Linked DNA regions of Homo sapiens: regions 1, 3, 4, 5 and 6 are each linked to region 2. Evidence: promoter capture Hi-C in 16 types of primary human blood cells and fetal thymus (Javierre and others, 2016). All regions are on one chromosome and are shown on one strand. Each heading gives the region's core, a stretch centred on a gene start or on the middle of the fragment in contact. The rest is flanking DNA. Distances are from core to core; before and after follow the strand shown.

Region 1 (4,854 bases), core at 1,563-4,062, 220 kb before region 2:
TTTTCCCAACTAAATGTAGACAATAGTAAGTTTGGGAAGCCACAGCTATTTTTGGACATTGTAACGAACAGGAAAGAGTGAACAGTGGATACTCTGGGTGATTTTTATTTTCTTTTTGGTCTTTCCTCTTCCCTATCTGTTTCAGCATCCCAGCTCACTTCAGCCTCCTTTCCATGGACATAGCACAAATGTTTCTCCACCGCCGGTCCAGGTTTCTCGTAGCCTGCTGTATAGAGTCACACTCGGCATCAGTGGCACAGGCGTCACAGTCGTGCAGCAGGACTTCACACAGGTTGAGGACAGATGCAACACCTGTACTGTGCTTCTCTATGTCTCTCTGAAGCTCCTGCAGGGGAACGTAACAGGCTTTATTCAACAATTACATGTATACAGATGAGAGAAACTGAAGCAACCTATGTTGGTAAATGGCTAGGCTACACCTTGACAAATATTTAATTTCCTTGAATGTATGACATTTATTGAGCCTCATTTATGAAATCCAGCAAGCTCAAAAGTACTAGAAAATGGATGTAGAAATATTTTGGCTATGCGAGCAATGCCAAAATATAAACTGAACAAATGAAATGGTCTACACTAAGAGTAAAACTAACTTCTTTAATCAATAAAAAATGAATCTTGCCCCAGACTCTACTTCACGAATACATCACTTTCATTCCAATCAATCAATCATCATCTCTTAGTATCTGTCAGGGGATTGGTTCCAGACCTTCCCTCGGACACCAAAACCCATGGATGCTTAAGTCCTTGATATTGAATGCTGTAGTATTTGCATACCTCCTACACACATCCTTCCATACACTTTAAATCATCTTGAGATTACTTATAATACCTAATACAATGTAAATGCTATAGAAATTGTTCTTATACTGTATTGTTTAGGGAATCATGACAAGAATAAAAAGTCTGTATGTATTCAATACAGATGCAAATTGTTTTCCAAATACTTTTGATCTACGGTTGGTGGAATCCACCAGTGTAGAACCGTAGATACCAAGGGCCTGTATATATGCATGTGCTAGACCTGGCACTCAAGAACTGGGCTTTAAGATCCAAAGATTTACTTTTTTTTTTTTGGGATGGAGTCTCACTCTGTCACCCAGGCTGGAGAGCAATGGCACAATATCAGCTCATGGAAACTTCTGCCTCCCGAGTTCAAGTGATTTTCCTGCCTCAGCCTCCCAAGTAGCTGGGATTACAGGTACCCGCCATCATGCCTGGCTGGTTTTTGTATTTTTGTAGAGACAGGGTTTTACCATGTTGGCCAGGCTGGTCTTGAACTCCTGACCTCAGGTGATCCACCCACCTAGGCCTTCCAAAGTGCTGGGATTACAAGTGTGAGCCACCACGCCCAGCTGATTTGCATTCTTTTTTAAACAGTTAATTCCACCATCATTAAAAGGTAACATGGTTATCAATGGACGAACAAATAAAGAAAAAGTGGCATATATATACACAATGGAATATTATTCGGTCATAAAAAAATGAAATTATGTTGTTTGCAGCAACATGGATGGAACCGGAGGTCACTATGTTAAGTGAAATAAGCCAGGTACAAAAACACAAATATCACACATTCTCACTTGTATGTGGGAGCTAAAAAAGTTGATCTCATGGAGGTAGAGAGTAGAACGCCAGATAGCAGAGGCTGGGAAGAGTGTTTGGGGGCAATGAAGTGAGGTGTCAATAGACACAAACATACAGTTAGAGGGAATAAGTCTTAATGTTCGATAGAGTAGAATGACTATAGTTAACAACAATGTACTGCATATTTCAAAATAGCTAGAAGAGAGAAATTGAAACATTCCCAACACATAGAAATAATAAATACCAGAGGTGACGGACACCCCAAATACCCTGACTTGATCATTACACAGTTTATGCATGTAACAAAATATCATATGTGCCCCACAAAGATGTAGAAAGACTATTTAAGGGACCTAGGTTCTATATCATGCATGACATCAGCAGTTTCCTCAGAGAACAAATTCTTTTTTTTTTTTTTTTTAGATGGAGTCTCACTCTGTCGCCCAGGCTGGAGTGCAGTGGCATGATCTCAGATCACTGCAACCTCCTGCCTGATTCTCCTCCTCATTCTCCTGCCTCAGCCTCCTGAGTAGCTGGGATTACAGGCGCCCACCACCATGCCTGGCTAATTTTTGTGTTTTTAGTAGAGACGGGGTTTCCCCATGTTGGACAGGCTGGTCTGGAACTCCTGACCAGGTGATCCGCCCACCTCGGCCTCCCAAAGTGCTGGAATTACAGGTGTGAGCCACTGCGCCTGGCATAGAGCAACTTTTAATGTAGGGCAGAAGTAAAATGTTTTATGATAAAAACAAAGCATTGGATTTCCCTGGAGTCCCACAATGTGAAATCTTCATTTTAACTGTATAAAATGTAAATTCAAATTGTATGTTGTTTTCTCTATTGAACTTTTAACTCCATTTACTCCAAGTAAGTATTCCATTATTAAAAGTAAGCTCTACCAGTATCATTTTTTGTTTACTATATTCATCAATGTCCTTAATGTGTTTTCCTTTTCTTTTATCAGGAAGTTCTTGAATTTGCTTATTTTTTCTCTTGCTCTAAAAATTCCTCAATTTACGCAGATACCCGGGATTTATATTCTTGTGTTGCTCTTCCTCTTATTTTTTTCCTTGATGCCATGTTCCAACATCTATGCAAACACTAGCTATTGTCAAATGTCATAGTGCCTTTAATTAATTTTGGAGATTTTATAAACTAGACACTAGACGATAAATTTTACTAAAATATTTATATTTGTATAAACAGTCCTTTCAAATCTCTGACATAACCTCCTTCACTTACATGAAACAATATGTCACAGGAATTGCTGTTCTAAAAAATATAAAATGAAGTAATATAAAAATTAAACTTAGTATTTGCTTAAAGATAAATATAAAGACAAATAATTCTGTAAATGAGATTACCAAGTACATTTGAGGTCTTAAACTACATTTTGTGCAAGCATATACATTTGGAAGAAGTGTTAGGCCCCTGGACATAAACCATGCATTTAAGAAAGTTAGCATTTTTATTTCATTTTCCCTAAATACTCAAAAGTTTTTGTTAAAATCAATATATGAAATAGCAACCCTAAGATTTGAGGGGATTTATAATCATACATAAGTGCCCTAAGACAAAGTTTTAGGCTCAGCTTCAACTTTTTTTCTTTTTTTTGAGACGGAGTCTCGCTCTGTCTGCAGACTGGAGTGCAGTGGCACAATCTCGGCTCACTGCAACCTCCGCCTCCCAGGTTCAAGCGATTCTCCTGCCTCAGCCTCCTGAGTAGCTGGGACTACAGGCGCGCACCACCATGCCCAGCTAATTTTCGTATTTTTAGTAGGGACAGAATCATTCTTAAAAATTTTCCACAAGGGAAACTGTGGTAACTGTGACATGATTAAAATAAAATGTATCAAGCCCTGACTTTGTGTTAGGTAGGCACTGTGCTCAGTGCTTCTTCTTAGTAATTTGTATAATCACACTGTGTGGTGTGGACTCTGATGATTGGCGTTCTATAAATCAGGGCTCTAAGGGTTCAAATAGTTATGGCTTTGTCCCAGATCACATGGGAATGTAGTGAGGCCAAGATCTGAACCCAGAAAGTTTACTTTTAACCACTGGTGTACAGGACTTTTTAAAGTCTTAATTTAAAATTTAATTAAAAAGCTATATGTGCATATTTAATGTAGTAAAAAGTAAAAAACGACTAGCAGGTTCTGAAGAAAGCAGCATGTTTTCCACCCCGGAGTTCACCTGTTCAGGAGCAACCATTTCCATCTCTTGCAGCTCTTTCTTCTGGTATTACTTCTACCCTTTTTAATTTTTTGAGACAGGGTCTTGCTCTGTCACCCAGGCTGGAGTGCAGGGGTGTGATTATGGCTCACTGCAGCCTCAAATTCCTGGCCTCAAGTGATCCTTCTGCCTTGGCCTCTCGAAGTATTAGGATTACAGGGGTGAGCCGCCACATTCAACCTATTTCTATATTTCTCAGTAATATATAACTTCTCTATTTCTAAGTAACATAGCTACTGCTTGATTTGTCCATACTTTATGAATTCTTGTATAGTAGAGAAGAAATAAACTTCTACATGGCTGACTGAACTCTAATGACTGTTACAGTACAACTTAGAGCTAGGGTAATAATCACTGTTCTCATGATTATGGTTATTTAATATTTTTCACATTTGAGGAACAAAATATACTATGGTTATGTTTCTTTTCTTTTTTTTTAGACAGAGTCTCAGTCTGTCGCCAAGCTAGAGTACAGTGGCGCGATCTCCGCTCACTGCAACCTCCGACTCCCTGGTTCAAGCGATTCTCCTGCCTCAGCCTCCCGAGTAGCTGGGATTACAGGCAAGCACCACCATGCCCAGCTAAATTTTTGTATTTTTAGTAGAGACGGGGTTTCACCATGTTGGCCAGGATGGTCTCGATCTCCTGATAACTCATTTTCCTGGATTTTACAATCCTCTCTCTCTCTCTAATTTATAATGCTTGCTTCTATTATCTCTCTTATTGAACTAATAAAACTCCTTCCGGAGTGGTTAAGCCCATCAGATAATCTAGCCCCTCCTGGCTCCTCCTGGAAACATCCCTCCTAGAGCACCCAGAGCCCCTGCTCCCATCTGGACAGGTGCTGGCTTGGCTGCAGTACAGCTGTCATCAGGGACTTTCCTGCACCTTCACTCTGGGAATTCCCTTTTTCTTTCTCCTGAGTTGAATAGCATTTCCCCTCTTGCTTTAGTGCGTGTAGCATATGCAGCATATATAGCATAGTAGTACGTAGCCTGTGTAGCAAGTATGAAGTGT
Region 2 (4,678 bases), core at 841-3,340:
TTCCTTTCTCACTCTATGCAAGAGATATCCAGGCTAGCTTATTCTGTGTCTTAGCTCCTTTCATCATTCCCCTCTTTGCCTCTGCACGTTGACTTTCACAGACCCACTTACATATTCATTATTTCTTTTGGGGGTGGCACTACATCCTCCTAATCTGATTCCTCCTCTCTAGGTTCCTCTCTTGTGTTTTCTGATTCCTCAATGATCCTGCATCTTGATGCTGTTCCTCTACCTCACCTGTCAGGTCACATTTTAATTATACCTCAAGACTCAACTCAAATAACAACTCCTTTAAGTACCCCCTGCCCTCCTTCCCACCTCTTCGGGTTTCTCATCTGAGGATACACAGGACCTTGCAGACATTCATCACAAGGAGTATCCACATTGGCTTTATGCTTGCGTATCTCCCCACCTAGGCTGTGATTATGAGAGCAGGAATGACATTCTCTTGGTTTGTCAATTCTTTATTTAACTCGGTGTCTGGGCTGGAGGAGTCTAAGACATTTTTATTTACAAAAATTCATCAACAACTAAACAATTTCTCTCTGAAATTCCAAACACTAAACTAGGACCAACTATTTTACACCATATGGAACCTTTTACTTAAGACAGAACATTGTAAGAACTAAAGAAACTTAGCATTCAACAAAAACATAAAAATACTGGAGATTCAAGTCAGTTACTTATGAATGGGATGACATTAAAAGTGAAAAGTTTTTGACCAAAACGTTACATTTAAAACATTTCTATAACTTCATCCTAAAGTATGTCAGTAGAGTCAATATATAAATATCAGCTTATGTATTTCTGATTCTGTTAAGTTCTAGAATGCATCTTTCCACCTTATACAGCTTAAGAAAATTATTTCCAAAGCTAATATCCCAAAGGATATTAAGATAAATGAGTTTCGCAAACATAGTAAATAGAATTATTTTTACAATATTATATTATATACTTTATAGATCATCTGTTTTTATGTTTTAAAGAATTTCTTGAGTATTGTCATCTAATTGCATAAAATAAATACTTTAATTCTTATTGTGATCATCAACAATGACAAGTCCTCCCTAAAAGCAAAACAATGCCCTAAGAACCCTAGCATATTTACTATTTTGTTAACATTTTCTTACATATTCATTGTGATAGAAATATCTCCACTTTTAGATAAAATGCCATTATTAGAAATAAAAGAAAACATGAATATTGAGAAGCAATGTAGCATTGTCATCAAAAGCATTGACCCTGGAGTCAAATCTGGAAGCAGACATACACAGAGGGCTGTCACATTTGAACTATTTAACACAACTGAAAACCCATATTTACTACTGCATTCTCATGTATATTTTTATAGGCCTCAACCATTATTTTTACTAATAATATCAACGTAAAAATAATGAACAGAATAGTAATGTAATCTAGGCACAGCCAAATCTTTCCTTTTTAAAAATTTCACTCTGTGACTGGAATAGAAAGAAAGGGAAAGAAAAAGGAACCAAGAAAGTGTAACTGATTTTTTCATATTATACCATGTAGAGCAATTATCAACTTCTTTGTCCCTCTGTGACAGAACTGATTTCTATGCTTTATTCTGGTACATAAATCTAAAGGACAGGAAATGGAACAGAATAACAAAAACAAACCCCCAAACCTAGAATCATTATAAATAGAGTAGCATAAAGAGGTAGAAAGCTTTATTTTATGGCATGCTGCATTTGTTTCAAATACTTGATTTAAAACCAGACACTGCTGGAAATACTACATGACTTTCTTACTGGCAGGAGCTATTTTGAAATGATTGTAATATAAATAGGAGCAGAGAAGTTTACTAAATTTCCTTTTAAGGACATCCATGAATCAGGGCATTATAAAACTGGAAATATTGAAAAGGCTTTCAAAGATACTGTTTAACAGTGAAAGAAACGAAGAAGAGGTTACACTCTTGCTCATTCTTCGGTCTCCCTTGTAGGCTTCCCTTTCTCACATTCTAAAGAAGCTGCCATTAGCTTCAAAAAAAAAAAAAAAGTCTCGGGAAGGTGACCAGGGAGGGTGACGTAGAGTTCTGTTAACAGGCTAATTCAAGAACAGCTGTCAAAACCACACAGAGGAGAGCTAATCGGGGAGATAACTATTTGCTGTGCTGTAGGAGATTACCAAGTGAGTCTTTTAAGGCTATAAATTCAATCATTTAGTTGTATGAAATAGTTAACTGGCAAGAAAACAGCTATGACTCTCTGTCTATTTATGCCCCTGCCCACAGGCCATTTTTCAGACTGAATGGCTGAATACAGTATTACAGACTCTTACACCATAGGAATGAAAGTAAAATGTCTCCACTAACAACAAATGTTTCCTACCGCAAATAATAACCCAAATCTTTATTTTTACAAAAGTTTGATATATAAGAAAAGGAAACAAATCAGACTTTGCTTATTTAATGAGATAAATACTTCTTCCAAGTGTGCATGTTGCGTGTTTTTAGTTAGCAAGATTTTTTTTTTAAGGAATGATGAAAGTCAAAACATTTTTTAAAGCATAACCACCAATAGAAAACAGGAAGCCAACTTACTTGTCCTTTGTGCCAGCATTCCACTATCTCCTCATCCGTGTTCTTGCCTTCCAGGAGGGTTAACTGCTGAGCCCAGGTTTTCAGAAGGGCACTGAACTGTTCCAGGGCCTGCTCCAGTTGAGCCACTTGGCCTGAGAATTCCTGCTCCGAAAGGGCCATCTGGCTGACCAGGTTCTCCAAACAGCTCTGCGTTTGGAATACACTGTCTTCCCACTGCTTCCAGTCGGCACGCAGGGCCTGCATCTCCGTGTGCATGAGCTCACACCCACTGGCAGTTGTGTTCTGTTTCACTTCGGGAGCCAGCGACTCCACTCTGCTGAGACGGCTTGCACCAATCTCTCTGGAATCTATCAGCTCCTGTAATGGAATATCACCATGGTAACTGAAGAGCCTGTGAGTCACTTGGACTGCAAGTTTTCAACTGTGTACACAGGGGGACCCTGTCCTGCCAGGAAGTTTTAACAAGTGTGCCACAAGGACCCAGAATCAATTCATCTGTCCACTCTTAAATTATAATAGCGGGAGTTGTCATCACGAGTGCCTAAGGCTTATGGCAAAAAAATCCCGAGAATCCTCAATATCCTGAAACAGACTAAACAGAGACCCTGAAATCAGGCATTATTCGCACACGTGAAAATGTTTAGTGACTCAAGTGTTTGCCTGTGGTGGATTGCTCCTGTGAATGATTAAACCCATATTTCCCTCAAAGTGGATGCTCAAGTAAATAAAGATCGTGGCAGAACTGTGTTCTGCTCACGGTCTCTATACTCAATTCATCTTCTTCAACAGGGTGGTGGCTTAAATCACACTTCCATTCTACTAGGAATCAAGCAGACTCATCACAGCAAAAGAATGAGCCCTACTCGATTCCAAATACCTCAATACTAAGTAAACATTTTTGTAGCATATAAAATGAATAATTCATTCATAGACTGACTTACTCAAAAGTTTAAAGTAACCTCTAGACTGAGTACATTTATTAGTATTTTTTTACCTTAAAAAAGTCACTAGAAATTTAACAGTTTAGCTATAGCCAAGTTAACAATTTAGCTCGATCTTAAAGCACACAAATACTGTAAAGGAAAACAAGATAAAATTAAATCACATTGTTAAATTGATATAATTGCAGCATTTCTGAGAATAGATTCTCTTACTAAAATTTTTCTTGGTGAAATAATCATCCGATGTTTATATATTTACATATCTATTGCTAAAGGCAGGATTTTGTTAATATTATTACAAAATTATGACTTTACTACCGGATTAAATAGAAATAAAAGATAATCAGGCACAAAAATGTTCAAGAAGAAAATCAATGACCAATTAGCAAGTAAAGAAACATTGGAATGTTAAGTATGAAGCATGCTTAATAAATTATGTTAAGCATAAAGTATGTCTTAACTAGTCTATATAATATAGTTTGCATCTCATTAAATTAACTTGAAATAAATATATCTGTTCATAATTATATACAATAGAGCCATATTTTAATATAGATCATTTGAAAGTATTTAGTATTCAGTTGTGCAGTAGTCTAAATTACAATGACATGAAAACCCTTACACACAGCATGATATGTATATTCAACCTTCTCAGCAGCAGGATTCTAAAAACCATCACTGTTTATTAGTGTGTATAGTAGTTATTTGATGAAGAAAAAAATCTAACTTTTTAACCAGTGCTATGTCTAACTAATAGACCTTAATACTTGTAATTATTTTGCCTTTGTGAGCAATTTCAAATTTGAAGTTTCCCAAAATACTCTCTTATGCTTTATCCCAATTTTCCTTAGCATGAAAATGGAACACTTCAATATTTGCAATCAGAAATCTAGTCATTCAGAATTTGAATAAGGACATCATCATTGTCAAGAGTTTTGAAATGGCTTTTGCATATATTTTCTTATCTTGTATTTACATTTTTAAACATATGATATACACATACACACATATGTACATTCCCGCCCTCACACCCATATACATTTTGCTTTAGAGTTGCCTTTTCTCAGTGATTATTCCTGTGGATGTGATAGGTATGGTGTTGAAGGACAGAGGAGGTGCTTTATGTATTTCCTCCAAGGTTTTTAAAACCACCCACACACTAACCTACATT
Region 3 (4,701 bases), core at 303-2,802, 130 kb before region 2:
CCATGTTCTGCTGTCCTTGAAACGTAGCTGTGAGCATCTTTGGAGAGAGATTCAGCGAGGCAACAAAACATATATTACAGCATGGTCAAAGAATCTGTGCTCCTTGTTGTGAAGTGGAAAATCAATCAGTCAACAAGTATTCAAGTGGCTGCTATTGCTAAGCCTTGTCTTCCCAGTGTGAGGTCTGTAGAAGCAGAACAAGATCTCATCCTGTCCTTCAAGGAGCTGATGGTCTGGTTAGGAAGCCAGAGTAAACAGAGAAAAATAAAGCAAGGCTGAATATAAGTAAGTACTATACTCGATAATGCAACTCATCCCCATTAGCAGAGATCAGAGAAGGGAGATACCAGACCACAAATCCTGGAGCAGCCTAAGCAGGCGTTTGGAAAGAGGGCAACAGAGGTTGCCCCTGAAGGAGGACAAAAACAAGACTCCAGATGGCAGCTGAAACACATGTGTCCAATGTTCTCTTTCCTGAAAACCCCCTACAGTCAGAGTGAGTATTTTGTTTGCTTGTTCTCTGGCATATTTTTTCCCCATAAATCTAAAAGGACAAGGGAACAGAAAAGAAAACAATGCCAACAATATGTTGGGAGCTAGAAGTCAAAAGAATACATGATAATTGACTTAGGAAATCTGGGGAAGCTGAATTCTAAACCAGTGGAGGATCTCCACCACCCACTTCAGAGCAACAGAAATCTCTGGAACTCTGGGTGAAGTAAGCTGGGGTGCTAAGTAAGGAGGGTTAGTGAAGAGCTGCTTAAAGGACAGTTAACCCACAGATGCCCCTCCTTATTCCATACTGTCCCTTTTTCTTCCCGGGTAAAAGACTGAAAGTGTGTTCTCTGGAGAAGGTAAAACAGACAGAGGGGCACTGGACACAGCTGTGAGCTTGAGTGCTTGACTGAAAGCAAGGGATGAAATAACTGGATGCTCCCTGCATGCTGAATGTGGGGCCCCTGAGTCTTCTCTCCCTGGGGCAAGAAGTGCTGCAGTCAGGGCTCTAGTCTCCAGAGATGAGAGGGAAAAATATCTGAACACACCAATAAGACAGGCCTGACAATTTGACAGAAGGATTCTCTAACAAATAAATGGTCCATAGAGACCATCCTGCAGGAACTCTTAAAATTATCATGTTCCATCCACACACAGAGTTCCCTTTCAGCTGTTTAGTCCTCCATCCTAAACCTGAATAGGCAACAAAAGATTTCAATATGCCTTTCGATGACATGAAAGATGGGGACTAACAGAAGCAAACAAATAAAAGCAAGCTGGAGGAAAACAGATTATACAGGAAAAGTAGAACTTTAAACAACAAAAAAAAAACCATTAATATACCCAGAAAGATATAAACGATAATGTATTCATTAAAAAAAATAAAAAATACTACAAAAAGGATCATTCGGAGAACCAAAGTGAGCTCCGGGAAAATTAAATACGTGAGAGCAGAAATGCCAATTCAGTACAAGAGTCTGGAGTTGAAATTGAGGACGTTTCTCAAAAAGCGGAGCAAAAAGACAAAGAAAGGTCTCTTGGTAAGACAGTTCAAGGGTTGAACCCGAGTATCTGACAAAAAGGAGTTCTCCAGAAAAGAAGACAGGTAAAATGCAGGAAAGAAATGTATTAAATAAATCATTAGAAAATTTTCCAGAACAGAAAGATGAGAGCTGCCAAATCAGAAGAGTCCCTTGAGCTCCCAGCCCAGTGGATAAAAATAGATCCTCCCCAAGGCATGTGATTGTGAAATTTCAGGACACTGGAAACCTTTGGGAATTAGAATGTTTTTAGATTCCTTAAGACAACACTGAGAGCTAGAAAACAATGAAGAAAAAGCCTTGAAACTCCAAAAGAATTCATATTCAACAAATGACCCTGAAGGATCACATAAAAACAGCAAAGCGATCAATAAAGTGTGAACATGGTATAAGAACATTTTCAGACATACATCTGGAAAAATACACTTATCATGTACCCTTTCTAAGAAAGGACATGCACTAACGAAACAAGGAAGCAATGCAGTAAAGAGAAAGACTTGGGATTCAGAAGAGAGAAGATCCAACATAGGAAGAAATGAAGGGATTCTCAGGATGGTGGTGAAGGGAAATCCAAGAAGACAACTGTGCACCAGGTTTATGAGGCAAGAGAACTGCTCTGGATTGGAACAGCACAACTCAAGAGATGACTATATTGAGTGAGGTGTGTCTTCCCCATGCCCTCTGCTGTTATTGCCTTTTTAATCCAAGTTGGGTAGGCATGGAATTAGCACGTTCATTAGTTGCATTCCATTTATTCAAAGAAAAAAATCTAACTGGTTATTTCTTCATCTGTGACATTCAGTTATATTGGTCAAAAATTAGTAAAAATTATTACTTGTGATCATACATATCTCATAATTCATATTAGAAATCCAAAGCAAGACATCACTACAGTTGCTCCAGTCTTTTTTGGAATCACACATACATTATAAGCCAAGAAAAAAAACAAAAAGATTTTTCATGGGGAGAAATGAGAAATCTCTTTAAAAAGCAGATGAAATTATGGTCAAGAAAAATGCACAGCCGGATGCGGTGGCTCACACCGGTAATCCCAACACTTTGGGAGGCTGAGATGGGAGAACTGCTTGAGCCCAGGAGTTCAAGACCAGACCAGCCTGGGCAACAAAGTGAGACCCTATCTCCATATTAAAATATATATTTTTTATTATATATATATATATATATATATACACACACACACACACACACACACACACACATATATTTTTAAAAATAAATAAAAAGAAAAATGCACACTCACAGTTTTGCAAACTATTTTGAGAGGTGTTCTTTAACACACACACACACACACACACACACACACACACATATTATATGTCAGATTATTCTCTATCGTCTATCCATAGATTCCCGGGAAGTTCGCTGAAATTAAATCAGAGAATTCTATTAAAACACATACTTCTCACAATTACTTAGCTTATGAAACAGGAGATATTCTAACATCCCTCCCATTTCTTCTATCTGCATTTTCATGCCATCATGCCAGTTTGGGTTCTCATTCTTTCTCTCCAGTACAGCTACATGAAGCCTCATGATGGATCTCCTGTTTCCTGACCCTGGTGCTGTCATGTAAACTAACCAGAAGCAAGATCTAGAACTGCCATTCATTTTTACCTGCAAACATCCCCTACAACTTTCCATGGCCAGGGATCTCCCAGCTGAGTCTAAACACCCAAGAGTGTGCAAGATGATTTACCAGGATGAAACACCACATCTTTCATTTATATTCAACCACATTAATTTTCAATTTTGGTTGTAGCATGTACACAAACAAAAATTGAAAATAAATTTGGCTGAATTTAATTGTGATTTATAACATAAATTGCTTATAATTTATAAATAAATAAAAATACATACACTTATGCTGCATATTTATTTCCTTTTTTTTTTAGCTAATGAGGCATGCAACAAATAAAGTGTACAGGTAACTAGTTTATAGAATAAAGTCCAAAGTCACACATTCAACAGGCCCTACAAACTGCCTTAAATTTACATATCCAATCTTGTTTGTCCTCAGTCACTTTCATTTATCTTAAATTCAGCTAAAATAGAATTACCTGTGTTTTTCCCTAAGTGCTCAGAATTCTCTAACAATTTGTGCCTTTTTTCTTGCTGTCCTCTTTACCGTGATATCTTTCTTTCCTGTTGTTGTGTGTCCAAACTCTTAGGTTCAGTTCAAATTTCCCTCTACAAAGCTTCCCTAATCCTACCCCTGCTGGAGGCCAGAAGGGTCTGAGTACCCATAATGCTTTGTCAGTACCACTCCCAGGACAGTTTGACTTTCTGCCCTATGTCATTGAGGTTCATATCTAATCTCATCATTGGGCAGAAAACTCCTTCAGGTCAGCATCTGCCATGGATACCTTTTCCCAGCTCACATTTCCTAGTTCTGTGCAGATGTAAGTAACAGAGTCAATGTCACCTGGTATGTTATTCAAACCCAGTACTCAAAAACAAAAATACTACAAACAAAAGTGCCACTGTGAGCCATTAATCTTTCATAGAATATTCAAAATTTCATAGTAAGTCATATCTCCTCTATGCATTTTCTCTTCTAGGAAAAGGCAGCTATAAATACCTCTATTTGTTCTGCTACGGGCTGTTCAAACACATTTGCCAGTTTTTGCAGAATGATGTATTTGTTGTCAGCCAGTGATGTAAACAGCACTTTCAGATCATTCTAAGGAGGAAAGCAACGGGAAAACTCAAAATGTGTAACAGGGAATTCAAAATACTTGTAAATATAACACAGATTCTAAGAAATAACATAGAGGCACAGAAATTTAATTTCCAGGAGAAACAATACTGTGCTATGGGAAGGTAAAAGGAACTGGTAACAATTTACTTATGTGCTAAAACTGACTCCTGAAGAATCTGTTACCCAAAGTATTTTCTACATAACACAAATGAAGTTGAACCATACATGTAAAAAGCAACGCTTGTCACCCTAATCTCATTACATCCGAAATAAATGAGCACAGTCAAACATTGCACAGAAATATTATATTAGTGGCTCTTATCTAGGGAAATAACCTATAGGTGTTATCCTGATTTGGGAAATAATATGATACTTAAGAATCATATGATTTCCATTTTGCTCTCTCCTCTTCTTCCCTCCCTCCATCAGTTTCTTCTTCTATTTTTG
Region 4 (4,350 bases), core at 1,247-3,746, 160 kb before region 2:
CCAAAGCTTACACAGACCAAAAGCTAAACTTGGGCAGTCTAAGAAGGGCATGTGGGGAAAACAAGGTAGCTCCTGAACATACGTTGCAATCTTGAATCCATGTGGCAACCTCATCATCGGCAATGTCCTTGTTTGTGGCTGCCTTCAACAGCTCATTGGTTCGATCCTCCTGCTGCTGAACTGTCGAAGCACACTGTTTGGAGTAGTCCTTGTATCTTTGCCAAAGCTGAAGTAGGGCCTTGCTGGACTGTAGCTGCTCAGCAATCTCTTCCAGCAAGTTATTCCATCTGGAAATAATAACCAACACTCATGAGCAGATTACCACCTCTCACCAAATGTGGATATGTGCTATTTTATTTTTCATGATCCTGGTTCATGTGAATATAGACATAATCATTTCTAGTTAACATAATAAAAATTAATGTTTCATATTCCTAGTTTCAGGGTAGGTAATGAGGATGATGGCAATCTTTGGGTGTACAGTACTTCTAATTCTTTCTAAATCTCTTCACTACATTTATTTATCCTTAAATTCATGTTGTGAAAGAGAAGTTTAAAGGAATAGAATCTATATAGCTCAAATTCAAACTGTCATTGTTTTAATTATATCATTATTTATAATAAGGCTGTGATATAAATAGTGTGTAAAGTTAACATACTCCATACCTCATGTTGACTTCTTTCAGTGTATTGGTAAGAGTTTCTGTCACGGGTGGGTGACACTCTTTTAATAATTGGTTGGTGATAGAGCCAAATTTCTGTAAGCTCCTTTCCTGTTTTTCCAGATCATCTTGGAGATTCTGCCCCAAAAAAAAGACCCATAGATGACATAACAGGATCTAAATTCTAATAAGCAAGTTTAAAAGGAATTTGTATATGTTTTCATAAATATGTACATATACTTGTATAAACCAGGCATGACTTAGCACCAATGCTTTATCAGCTTTCTTTAGATAATCATTTATTCTCTTTTGTAGGATTTTGTTATTTTGGCTATGAGAAGAGGTTCTGAGCAATGAAGCCTTCTTCTATTGGCATTTGCATTCTGCTGAAAAACTCACATAGGGTGCCCTTGTCCATTGTCTGGTAGGAAGCTGCCAGAGATGGTAAATTCCTCTTCAAAGGGTTTAATTGTGTAATGTCCTTGTCCTTGGTTCAGAGGCCTCACCTCCTTGTACTTTCTTGTTTCTGGCCTGTGAGCAGCCCTCCTGCTCTTGTTGTGTCCTGACTTGCCCAGACATGTCCAAACTTGCCTTGTGCTGTAACACAGGGACCACTCCTACCCCTCCCTCCCTTGAGAATCACATATTTACCCTAATTGGAAAAGTTTAAGTCTTAGCCAACTGAGGTCAGTTTAGATTGAGTGGTCCAACCCTAGCCAACAGGGGAAGGATGCAGGGATAGGGACTGCGTTAGGGATAAAAACTCCTTCTCTCCTTTGTTCAGTGTGCTCTTGCAGCAGCCAGAAGTGTGAGTGGCACCCTCCTGCAGAAGTAAATTTGCCTTGCTGAGAAATCCTTTAAGTGCTCATTTTCCTTGCTACCCCAAGCTCTTGTTTCTAACAAAGCCATGGCAATGGTGTTATGTAACGTGCTATCTGCCAAACTGTGGATCTCTTTGACACTCAAAGCCAAAGCCAGGTCTCTATTTTGTTACATACCCGCAGTGCTTCTACCACAAACTCCCGAAGATGAAGACTCTAAGAAGGCACAGCTTTGCCAAGCTTTATCTCTGGGTGTTCTTCCTTGCCAAGAATTATTTTTAACTTAAAAAAATGATTTTCAATTGACAAATAATAATTGTATGTATTTGTAGGGTACTATATGATGTTTTGATATATGTTTACATTGTGGAATGAATAAATTAAGATAATTAACATATCATTACCTCACATACTTATCCATTTTTGTCTAGCAAAGTTGAACTCATAGAAGTAGAGAGTAGAATGGTAGTTACCAGGGCATGGGATAAGGGATTAGATGGGGAAAAGAAAGATGTTGATCAAAAGGAACATAGTTTCAGCTACACAGGAGGGATAAGCTTTAGTGATCCACCGTACAGAATGGAGACTATAATTAATAATAATGCACTGTATATGTCAAGATTGCTTAAAGCAAAGAATATTTATCAGACAGGTTTGGCATCTTCTACCAAGCCTATCTAAATAGTCTGCTACCAAGGACCAGTAAGGGAACTGAAAGAAAGTTGTTTCTCTGGAAATAGTGCTGAGGTGACAGACTCAGTTCTTCATAAAACTCCACAGGTGAAGTAGGCTACAAAAATCGAGTACTGTTTAACACCAATATCTGATTACCCTCAAATGAAAACAGTCAAGGAAAAGACCCTTAATCCTTTCATGTCTTAAGACAGCTCTTGCAAGTATTAAACATAACATATATTAAATTAAAAAGCATTTCTAACCTCCTCAAAGTTATAAGATGTGCTTTTAAATTTACTATCCTCAGAAGAAGTTTTCGTGATCCTTAGTAACGACAATTTAAGGGTTAAGAAATTATATAGACAAATTTGTCCTTCCTCTCTTCCACCCTACCCTAAAAAAAATATTTCCTTAAGAAAGTCGGCCGGGCATGGTGGCTCATGCCTGTAATCCCAGCACTTTGGGAGGCTGAGGCATGTGGATCATGAGGTCAGGAGTTCAAGACCAGCCTGGCCAAGATGGTGAAACTCCATCTCTACTAAAAATACAAAAATTAGCCAGGCATGGAGGCACATGCCGTAATCCCAGCTACTCAGGAGGCTGAGGCAGAGAATTGCTTAAACCCGGGAGGCGGAGGTTGCAGTGAGCCGAGATAGCACCACTGCACTCCAGTCTGGGCGACAGAGCGAGACTCTGTCTCAAAAAGGAAGGAGGGGAGGGGAGGGAAGGAGAGGGGAAGGGAGGGGAGAAGAGGGGAGGAGAGGAAGGCAGGCTGCATCTGAGGTCAGCAACATAGAAGCTTTGATTGGCTGGCCAGGGAGGCGGACTAGATATTAGCAGGGCACATGCTGGTCTCTTGTTGGCCTCCCATCCCTTAGGGGCCTGCCCTGCCCATCCCATAGTCTGTGTTCTTTAGCCAAGAAGAAAGAGCAGTGACAGGTGAGAGTGGCCCGGTGCACAGGAGAGTGGGGGCAGCAGGAATTTGAGGGCGGTGACCTGAGACAGGAGAGAGTGCTATGTTGAAGACAAACATCAGGGATATCATTTTACATGGACACAATGACAAAGGACCCACAGGAAACCAAGCAGTAAGTGCTAGAAAGGAAGATTCTGTGGACACGCTGGATAGGCCACTGATATTTTACTGAATGGAAGCAACTGAATGGTTTAAACATTTACCACTTTTGCCGTTTTTCTCTGTGTTTTCTTTTGAACATTCCTTAGAATATGTTTGGAGATGCAGATAAGAAGAGAAAAGGAAGACAAAAGGCAGTGACAATGAATCAAGGAGGTTCAGTTGGGCATAAAATCATTGTATAAAAGACGATGTGAATATTTTTTTACAACAGGATCTTGGAAACCATTTAGTTATATACCAGCTAATCCAGAATTTGGCACACACAGGCAAGTTTGCTCAAGTAACAATAACACAGGTAAAATTAATTTTAAAGATCTTAAAAAATAATTAAACGTAAACAACATATGGCAATATTTCAGGATGATGTCTCCATTTGGTAATTTTTCAGTTTTCTAAAATTAAAATGAACGTTAAGGATGTGTTAAATTAATTCCTTACCTGAAGATTGTCCACCTGAACTTGCACAGCTTCTAAGGAGCCAGTCAGCAGACGGAATCGGGAAAGAGAGTATCTGGCCTCCATGAGGTAACTGTTTATCTTGTCAAAGGCCACTTTGTGACTACTCCATTGGTCAAGCACTGATTTCAGCAGTATCTTTAATTGTCCAACCTTTTGAAAAAGACAAATATGGCTTATAATTTCATAATATCTAGAATGATGGAATATATATTCAATTGATGGGAAAATATTAACATCTAAGAACTTCATCAGGGTTTCAGGTATCATAAACAAACAAAACTAAAAAGAAAAAGATTTAAAAGGTAAAATGTATCAACTTTGAAATTTATGCCTTCCACACTTTAAACACTCAGTTCTAAGTGGAAATGCTTAAAAGGGTAACTGATAAATATATATATATATGTATATATATACATATATACATATGTATACACATATATATGTGTATATATATATACATATATGTATATATATTTTTAAGTTATAAGAGGTTGATACTTTTAATAAAACAGTTTAAGAATTGTATTAAATGAGTGTTTCAAATGCATTAACTCATTTAATCCTCACAACACCTTATGAGATAGGTATGATCATT
Region 5 (4,832 bases), core at 893-3,392, 180 kb before region 2:
GGCATTTTTGACTGGCTTTATCTTGTTCATGCTGAAACATATGTAGCAAAGGATTAAATGTGTAATATATAAAAACCCATGTAAATTAAGATGTAGAAGAAGAGAGATAATGCACAATTTAAGAAATCTATATCTAATATGCAAAGTAGCAGTAAGTGCTCTGGAGAGGAATAGGCCAGGGCAGGTGGTAGAGATAGGCAGTATAGAATGAGGTAGAGCTCTATGTACTGACAAAATAAAACATCTATTGTGTGGTTATGTTTTGAAAGGTTACACAGCAAACTGGTAACAATGGTTACCTCTTGAGAATATAGGAGAATTTGGATGGCACAATAAGGGAAATTTCATTTTTTACTCTGTATAGTTAAATTATTACCTAATTTTTAAAAATCAGACACACGTAATTTTTTTGTAATAAAAAAGTAGAATTTTAAAAAATGACAGGAACCACAGCAGAGCTTGATCTTTTTTATAGCACCTTATCTACACATTAACTCCTATCCGGTGTCTTAGTGCCAGTGAAAATTAATTTCAACTAAACAAGTCTCCTTCATGTTGTCCAACACTGCCCGTTTGTCAAACTCTCCAATCCAGGCCTTCCTGCTCCCCACTCATCTCCCCAGTGGCCACTCCATACACCGTGAATTACAGAATTCCAAAGCAAGACAACTAGAATCATGACTAGAATCACTTTTAGTTGTCAATATGGTGTCAAATCATGTTCCATCTTCCTTCACAATATCTCTTCCATTATCATCAGTCTTTTCTTATCTGGATTATTTCTACTTCTCTCCTGACACCTTAGTTTGAGCATAACAACCCAGAGGTGTTATTACCACAACTATTTTCTGGAAGCAGTGTTGACTAAAGTGCCCCCTTACTCAAAATGTCTTTATTCAAAAACTGAACTGAGAATTTGGCACAAGTCTCATTTCTCTTTAAAATTCCTTCATAGAACTTCTTAGAGTGCATAACCACATTCCCTCTTCCCAATTACCAGAAAAAAAAATTCTTAAAAAACAAAAAAAAATTGTCTATCAGGGACAGAGTTGTTCAAATTCTCCTTTGTTTTATGCTTTGTGTTCCCAGGGCTACAATTAGCTTATCAATGCTAACCATAGTGAGGGTAGACAAAAAGTTTCTCTTTCTGCTTAAATTAAACAACATTCTCAATAAAACTATCAAACATCCTGAATTGATCAACATACAGTTGATAAAAATTTATTGATCTAAAAGAGATAAGATCATCACGGGTGCTGTGACCCACACCTATAATCCTAGCACTTTGGGAGGCCAAGGAAGGGCAGATCACTTGAAGCCAGGAGTTCGAGACCAGCCTGGCCAACATGGTGAAAACCCATCTCTACTAAAAATACAAAAATTAGCCAGGCGTGGTGGCGTGCACCTGTAATCCCACCTACTTGAGAGGCTGATGCACGAGAATCACTTGAACCCAGAAGAGTGGAGGTTGCAATTAGCCAAGACTGCACCACAGCACTCCAGCCTGGGTGACACAGGGAGACTCTATGTCAAAAAAAAAAAAAAGAAAAAAAAACAAGAAAGAAAGATAAAAAAGATCAGCTTCTTACTTTTCAGAACAAAATTAAGAGATGATAGTGAAGAAGGTGAACATACAGAGCATGGAATTATAATGCCTATATTTGGCATACTTACTAACAGTATTAAAAGCTAAATATAGATAAGTATTATAGCTGGGGTAAAAAATAGACTAAAATGAGGCTATATAAACATCAAAATTCAGATTCATAAATTCCTTCTTAGGCAAACGGATGTAGTGTAAAAGTCAAAATAAAATAAACTTTAACAAGAACAGAAGAGGGATTCCTCTTTCCAAGGATGACTTAGATTCTAAATCTATAACCAAGTCCTTTTATGACGTGAATTATAAGGAAATAACTTAATGTCATGAGCCTGCAAATATCTATTAAAGTGGATGTTTTCTACACCAACAAACAGACAGACAAGAAAAGCAAATGTAGTGACTCAGACATCATGCCTTATTAAGTCTTGGAAACATCTCCAAAAATCACATCACAAATTTAAAAAAATATATGATTAACATGTTCTCTACAGGATGAGTTACAATGTTTTAAATCCTTTCCTAAAAGCAAAAGGAAGAAAATGAACCTGGCATATTACATTACTGATGAAACTGTGCTGTGTGCAAATAATAGTTTTTTATAGATGTCCAGTGGCATTTTTGATGGATTGCTTACTACACAGAAGGCAATATATTATTAAATAAAATTCAATAGAATAAATCCAATGGGTATGTATGCACACTTTAAGCATTAAAAAAAAAAAGCAAAATCTTTTCTATTAACCTTAGTCATTACCTTTGATCCAAACATGTGACAGGCCAAATTTAATAGATACCCTCACTGAAGTGTTGGTGATTATCAACATATACAGGACCATAACATTTAGGTGTCTTTACTTTTAAAGATTGTAATAACATCAACTATGATAATCACTATCATTCATTTAGCGCTCAGTATGAGCCAGGTAAGGTACCACATGATTCACTATCATTATTTCATTAAGTCCTCACAATGGCCACATGGAGGTGGTGAAATTATATACCCACTCTACCGATGAGGAAACTGAGGCTTAGATAGGCTAAGTTAACTGGGTCACTTGGTTTACCATGATTTTAACTTGAGATTATCTTATTTTAGAGGTCCTGTCCTTTTTAAACTGCTCATTTAATTATGCATTATACATGCAATTGAAGAGTGAGAGAGAAAAGCATATTGTGGGAGGTCCGGATAAATCTACATTTTCCAAAACTTACTGTGTGATCAGTATGTGATCTGTATCCAACTAAGGGCTTAATACACCTCCTGGAGATTTTATCTCATGGCAACTTGCTTGGATCAGCTAAGATAAATTAAGAGTATCTTTCTGGATTGGTTTTTCCCTTCCATAAAAGAAGAGATACCAATCTTGAAAACCACTTTAGAGTCTCAGATTAGGGAGTGGAACCTACCCTTTGAATTTCTGTGTGGATTTATAAAGTCATCACATGGCTAAGGTTTCATACTGGTCATTAATCAGAATTCATAGCTTAGACAGTCTTATTAGACTTTACTTTGTTGGGAGGTTGTCCTGAAAAATTAAATGCTGAAAATTGGGAAACTTTTCCAGTTTGTGCAAGATAAGACAAAGTCTTAAATAAAACACAGAGAATCAAAATACTGCAGGGTATTATTTCATGATCTTTGCATTATTTGATTTGTAGAATAACAATGGGAGGAAGTAGTACAACGACTAAAAGGGTTTTTTGGTTCGTTTTTTTCTAACTGAACTTACTTTCAACAAGAAGGCTAGTTTTTTCTTCTGTTCTTCCAGCCGCATGCTGGCTGATTTCCATTTCTCTTGGATTTCAGCGAGTTCGGCCTGCAAGGCGGCCTCAGCGCCACTGTCCGCCGAGAGAAGGAGTTGCTTGCCAGCCTCCACAGTCAGGATGTAGCTGCCTTGTTGCCGCAGAAACACTTTTTCTTTGAACTGAAAGGAACCATAGCTTTTTATTTTCTCATTCTTTCTTTCATCGTTTCCTTCCCATAAGGATTTTTAAATGGCCCTAACTTTTGCCCTCTTTCATCCAGCAAGCATTTACCGTAGTGGTGCTTTGCACATGCATGCACCAGTGAATAAATGAGTGAGAATACAATGGAGACAGGCTTAGTTTCTGTCTCCAAGGTAAGTACGATTGATGTAATAAGATAACCACTCTTTAAGATTGATGCGTGGAAATACAGAGGGACATCTGACCCAGCAGGGGGCGCACCAAGAGGCAGAGAGGCTTCCTCAAAGCAGTAAAGGCTGAATGTGTCTTGCGAGACATGAACTTCACCAGATTAAGAAGGACCTGGTGCGGTGAGATGAGTGTGATCAGGAGTGGAGGAGAGGCCACCTTCTCACAGAGAAATGAGGATGCGCACATTCACTATATGAGAAAAATATGATAAATTCAGGAAACTAAGTATGGTTTTCAGTGGCTGGAGTGTGGATGGCATGTGAGAGAGTGGTAGGAGATGAGGCCAGACGACATCTTGCAGAAATTTGGTTTTTATACTAAAAGTGACTGGGGTTCACAGAAGAATATTGATGTTGGGATTAAAGTTTTCATAAAAGCACTCAGGAATCGAGTAAAAGTAGAATGGAAGAAGGATGTGTGTTGGATATACTAAGATTAGGAAGCTATTGTCTATCTGGGCAAGAAATCGCGAGCACCTAACCAAGGCAGTGGCAGCAGGGATGTAGAGTTAGGGAGATTAGATAAGGGGATGATAGACAAGGAGAAGTATAGCTCTCAAATTATTCTAGGATTCCTAGACTAATGGCACTTCCTGGAAGTGTGATGGGAAAGGGAGAAAAGTTGGTCCAGAGACCACAGGTTCTGCTGGGACCCACAGGGTACAAGGCATCTGTGATGCACATAGACATAAACTCACAAGGTGGTTAGAAACACAAGTCAAAAGCACAGCAGGTAAATATGACCAGAAGATATGAATATGCCCCTTCTCTGCTGGCAGGGGGCAGTTGAAGTCATGTCTGCGAATGAGGGCTCTCAGAGAAATTTGGAGGAGAAACGAACGAAAGAACAGTGACTTTAAGGGAAGAGGAACTCATTGGATACACTGGGGAGAACTCACTAGAGTGATAGGAGATATCTCTCTAAGATGCTAGAAGCCTGAAGGTAAGGGGCAACCTGGAAATGAACAAAGAACTCAAACAGGACAGGGCTTCCTGTCTTCTTTGGAATACTCAAGTTACGTGTTTAAATTGCTCAAGAATAAAATGTATGC
Region 6 (4,187 bases), core at 736-3,235, 240 kb before region 2:
CGGCCAGGAGTTCGAGACCAGCCTGGCCAACATGGTGAAACCCTGTCTCTACTAAAAATACAAACATTAGTGAGGCGTGGTGGCTTACACCTGTAGTCCCACCTACTCGGGAGGGTGAGGCAGGAGAATTGGCAGGAGAATTGCTCGAATCCCGGAGGCGGAGATTGCAGTGAGCCGAGATCGCACCACTGCACTCCACCCTGGGCAACAGAGTGAGACTCTGTCTCAAAAAACAACGACAACAAAAACAAACAAAAGACTTAATTGTCTCATTCTATTCTAATATTTTAATGACCTTTTACTACAAGCCACCAAATATACTTTTGGGCCATAGATGTAACATGAAGTTTAAATTAAGCTGCCTTAATAAACAACACAAGCTAATTAAGATTGCTTGAGAACACTAAGATTTTTACAACTGAGCAACAACTTTAGAATCAGATTCTAAAGCTAGCAGATATCATCTTCTATGCACATGTTTGCTTTACAAAGATTGGAAACCACAGGGAGTTAAAAAAGTGTAAAGTAGAGACTATAATGCAAAAAGTTAAAAAAAAAGAAACAACACTTACCACTTATATTCATTTTCTGTAAATGAAATGCAACCCTGCTAAAAATAACTGGAGGCTGCCAGAGTTCACACATCTTACCATAAGCTGTTTGTGATGGTCCTGAAGTATCTCTGCATCAAGGTTAGAATCAATAGGGACAATTTCATTTTTCCTTCTGTCAATGTTCTCCAGCATAAGAAGCAAACCATGGCTCATTTCATGGAAACCCTACAGAAAACAGTTTAAAGTAACTGTAAATAAAATATTTTTATTTCTCTCAAAACTTAAATGTCTTTCAACTGCCACCATTAGCAAACATACTTGGTTTTAAGAACATACATGCAACTCCTTTCTGAGGAAGGCACTGGTGCTGTTGTAATGACCTGATCGTGAGTTCACGTTCTTACCAAAAGCATCTAATTTATTACTTGGAGGACAATTTAGACGAAAGGAAAACTGGCATCAACATACGTTATTTCTGAAAAAAGGGTAGTGCTATTATACAGTTTGGAAGGAAGCAACTCTGCTGCCCTCTCTTCTCTGTGTAGTCAAATCTTTCCATATTTTAAGGCCCACCTAGGCTGAATCTCATATCCCCTTCATTCATTCATTTATTCACTCATTCATTCATCCATTTATTTATTCAACATACAGTTACTAAAGATCTCCTACAGATAAGGCACTGTACTAGGAGTGGGTGCAGAGGTGAAACAGCAGTTTAGGTACCCGCTTTCAAGGAACTATTATATTACTCTTGGGGCACATATAAACCTGGAGAGCAGGCTTCAACTCCTTCCAGGGCTTTCCATGGCGCTCAGAATATGATCCAATCTCCTGGCCTGGACCTACAAAGCCATCTGGTTCCTGACCACCTCCTCAGTCTTTCTTCTCACTCCCTGGCTCAGCTCACCGACTACACTCTGGTCACAATGGCCTGTTTTCTGTTCCTAAAGACACTAAGTCCTTTCCTGCTTCTGGGACTTTCCATTTATTATATTACCTTCATAGCAACATCCTTCCAATGTTAGCTCAAAGAGCCAAATAAATTCCCTGACTACCCTCTCAAAGTGGCTTTTCTCAGTTACTTTTATCATCCACGTCTGCAAGTATCTGGTTTAACTATTTGCTTGCATTTTATTGATCTTGTCTTCCCCAACAAAAGCAGAGGCCATGCTGTATTCAATGTTTTAGCACCACGTCTGCCATATGGTGGACGCCCAGCAAGTAATTACAGTATGAATGGAAAAACAAATATTTGCAATGCTCACTTTGATGTTCAAGAAGGGTCTGCCTACTTGCCCAGTAAATATCTGTTGAATAAATAAAGGAAATAAATGAATGAGTCATAGAAGGAGCGTTGCGACGGAGATAAACATGAGGAATAGTCTCTTCTTATCTGGACAGAAGATAGGACCTAGAGATTTTGAACATGATCATGAACATGTAGAAATGCTCCAGTAAAATGAAAAGTTTGGGCACAAGGTTATCTCACTGAAATACTGACTTTGGGGAGCAACTGCGTCCCTCTAGAAACCATGATACATCAAGTCACACACTCAGCTAAATTGCTAATGTCTCTCTCTGAGTCACCTCCTGCCCAAAGCTCTACAGACCTGGCACTGCATCAGGGCATCCTGCAGCAGGCCCCGCCACTCCTCCAGCAGAGAGCACACTCGGTCCCAGCGCCCATTCATCTGCGACAAGCGATCCTGCAGGTCCCGGCTCTCCTTGCTGTCAGCCTGGGTGAACTCAGGGCTGCAGAGATTGATGGAGAGGATGATGGCTTTGCGGTGGTCCACAGCTTTCTGGAGCTCCTGAAAAGAACAAAAAAGACAATCAAACAAGGACAATAATGACAAAGATATTTTCCCTTGAAAATGTTTCACATGAATGAAAAGATCCATTAATTTAAACTGGCCTTAACAGGATGGCTAGGTAAAAGACAGAGGGTGCGTACCACTGAGAACTGTATGGCAGTTGGAAGAAATGAATTAGATGAGTACTTAACAACATGGATGAATCTTAAGAAAACAGGGTGTAGAGTGAAAACGTCAGAAACAGAATGTTACATGGAACACAACAGCCTCAATACATTCACACACACAAATCCACATTTTTAAAGAATATATCTGAACAAAGAAGGTCTGCCACATATTTCAGAATAGCTACCATTTTGAAAATCAAATGGGAACTTAGAGTTCAGCCAGGGTAGGGGGTGCAGGGGGGAGGAATAAAGAGGAGTCTTGTAGGAGGCAACAATAACGCTAGGCAATGACCTCATTAAGGAGTATGATTGAGTCCACACTCTGTACAGAGGTTCAACCACAACAAAATTCAAATTTGTGGGCCTAAAAATGAAGCAAAGAAAACAGATGCCAGGGCCCTGGGATCCAGATGTACTGAGTCTGCAGGCTCAGTGGCCCACAGGCTGAGAATACTGCCTGTGCCACACTGATGTGAAGGTAGAGAGAATGAATTGGGTATTTCATGAGCTAACCAGTTAGGTTTGATTTCACAAAAACCAGGTGACTGATTTTTGGCTTTGTGCATTTCCAAAACACCCAGTGCTCAATTCCAAGAACTTGAGCACAGGAGTCTGTATTAGTAATTGAGTATCTAGGTACTGTTTAAAATCCCCCAATCCAGTTAGGGTGAGAGATCCTGGAAGTCACATTGACCTAGGCTGCATTTTGAAATCATTTCTCACTAGCCCTGCAATGTTCCCAATCTGTCTTGATTTTGCACTTTTCAATAGGTTCTTAACATACTGTAGAATAGATTCAACCACACAGACAACATGGGTTTAAGAGACACTGTGGAAAATACTTGATTATTCCACAGATTTATTCAGAGAAAATACAGACAGGAAGCATCAGGAGAAAGTACAAAGGAGGATGTCTTTTTTCTTGTCATGCCGGATGACTTTCAAGGTCTTATTTCCCTACCCTAATCTCTCTGAGGTCTCAGACCCTGGCCAGCATTTGCTTCATCAACTTTTTAAGGAATCTGGTTATAATGCAACATGGCCTTACTAGAGTAATTTAGGGACTCTAGATAAAAATGCATTTCATAATGCAGCCATTGTAAATCTCTCTCACGTGGTACTTTGTCCTGAAATTCATGGGGTAGTGTAGAGGCCTTTCTATAGGGATGCACCTTTTGGATCACCTGGAGGGGAGATTCATTTCTCTTGTTTGAAGTTTTCTGTTTGAAAATTTAAAACAGACCAGGCGCAATGGCTCATGCTTGTAATCCCAGCAATTTGGGAGGCCGAGGCGGGCGGATCACTTGAGGTCAGGAATTCGAGACCAGCCTGGCCAACATGGCAAAACCCTGTCTCTACTAAAAATACAATAAATAGCCGGGCATGGTGGTGCATGCCTGTAGTCCCAGCTACTCAGGAGGCCGAGGCAGGAGAAACGCTTGAACACAGGAGACGGAGGTTACAGTGAGCCAAGATCGCACCACTGCACTCTAGCCTGGGTGATAGAGTGAGACTCTGTCTCAAAAATAAATAAATAAATAAATAAATAAATAAATAAATAAATAAATAAAATAAAACAAAATCACACAATCACTAAAAGCAAGCCAAAAAACATCAACCCCAAATAAAAAGCATATACTAAAACCACAGAA

Evidence for each region. Contacts are between HindIII fragments. The CHiCAGO score rates a contact against its expected background, and 5 or more counts as called.
Region 1: a fragment that was not itself captured here is called in contact with the fragment with the promoter of SYNE1-AS1 in region 2 in 1 of 17 cell types (neutrophils); the score reaches 9.3 in neutrophils.
Region 3: a fragment that was not itself captured here is called in contact with the fragment with the promoter of SYNE1-AS1 in region 2 in 1 of 17 cell types (neutrophils); the score reaches 9.7 in neutrophils.
Region 4: a fragment that was not itself captured here is called in contact with the fragment with the promoter of SYNE1-AS1 in region 2 in 1 of 17 cell types (neutrophils); the score reaches 8.5 in neutrophils.
Region 5: a contact is called between a fragment that was not itself captured here and the fragment with the promoter of SYNE1-AS1 in region 2, in 1 of 17 cell types (neutrophils). The highest score is 10.8, in neutrophils.
Region 6: a contact is called between a fragment that was not itself captured here and the fragment with the promoter of SYNE1-AS1 in region 2, in 1 of 17 cell types (neutrophils). The highest score is 11.0, in neutrophils.

Annotation. Positions count from the first base shown.
Region 1 is chr6:152,155,752-152,160,605 of GRCh38, forward strand. It overlaps SYNE1 (spectrin repeat containing nuclear envelope protein 1), which reads right to left. Exons shown (of 146, transcript NM_182961.4): 132 at 159-346. Among named protein-coding and RNA genes, the nearest start is that of SYNE1-AS1, 220 kb to the right of the region's middle. RefSeq lists an enhancer at 4,627-4,816. The HindIII fragment of the contact is 6,175 bases long and covers 1-4,854 here.
Region 2 is chr6:152,378,440-152,383,117 of GRCh38, forward strand. SYNE1-AS1 (SYNE1 antisense RNA 1) reads left to right here and starts at 2,091. Exons shown (of 2, transcript NR_120501.1): 1 at 2,091-2,154; 2 at 2,621-3,274. SYNE1 (spectrin repeat containing nuclear envelope protein 1) reads right to left here. Exons shown (of 146, transcript NM_182961.4): 56 at 2,567-2,923. The HindIII fragment of the contact is 6,155 bases long and covers 1,688-4,678 here.
Region 3 is chr6:152,245,027-152,249,727 of GRCh38, forward strand. SYNE1 (spectrin repeat containing nuclear envelope protein 1) reads right to left here. Exons shown (of 146, transcript NM_182961.4): 105 at 4,135-4,236. Among named protein-coding and RNA genes, the nearest start is that of SYNE1-AS1, 130 kb to the right of the region's middle. The HindIII fragment of the contact is 4,394 bases long and covers 1-3,749 here.
Region 4 is chr6:152,220,760-152,225,109 of GRCh38, forward strand. It overlaps SYNE1 (spectrin repeat containing nuclear envelope protein 1), which reads right to left. Exons shown (of 146, transcript NM_182961.4): 117 at 3,735-3,905; 118 at 667-800; 119 at 83-287. Among named protein-coding and RNA genes, the nearest start is that of SYNE1-AS1, 160 kb to the right of the region's middle. RefSeq lists an enhancer at 378-1,577. The HindIII fragment of the contact is 917 bases long and covers 2,039-2,955 here.
Region 5 is chr6:152,202,835-152,207,666 of GRCh38, forward strand. It overlaps SYNE1 (spectrin repeat containing nuclear envelope protein 1), which reads right to left. Exons shown (of 146, transcript NM_182961.4): 126 at 3,334-3,528. Among named protein-coding and RNA genes, the nearest start is that of SYNE1-AS1, 180 kb to the right of the region's middle. The HindIII fragment of the contact is 6,190 bases long and covers 1-4,832 here.
Region 6 is chr6:152,134,454-152,138,640 of GRCh38, forward strand. It overlaps SYNE1 (spectrin repeat containing nuclear envelope protein 1), which reads right to left. Exons shown (of 146, transcript NM_182961.4): 141 at 2,165-2,365; 142 at 651-779. Among named protein-coding and RNA genes, the nearest start is that of SYNE1-AS1, 240 kb to the right of the region's middle. The HindIII fragment of the contact is 9,888 bases long and covers 1-4,187 here.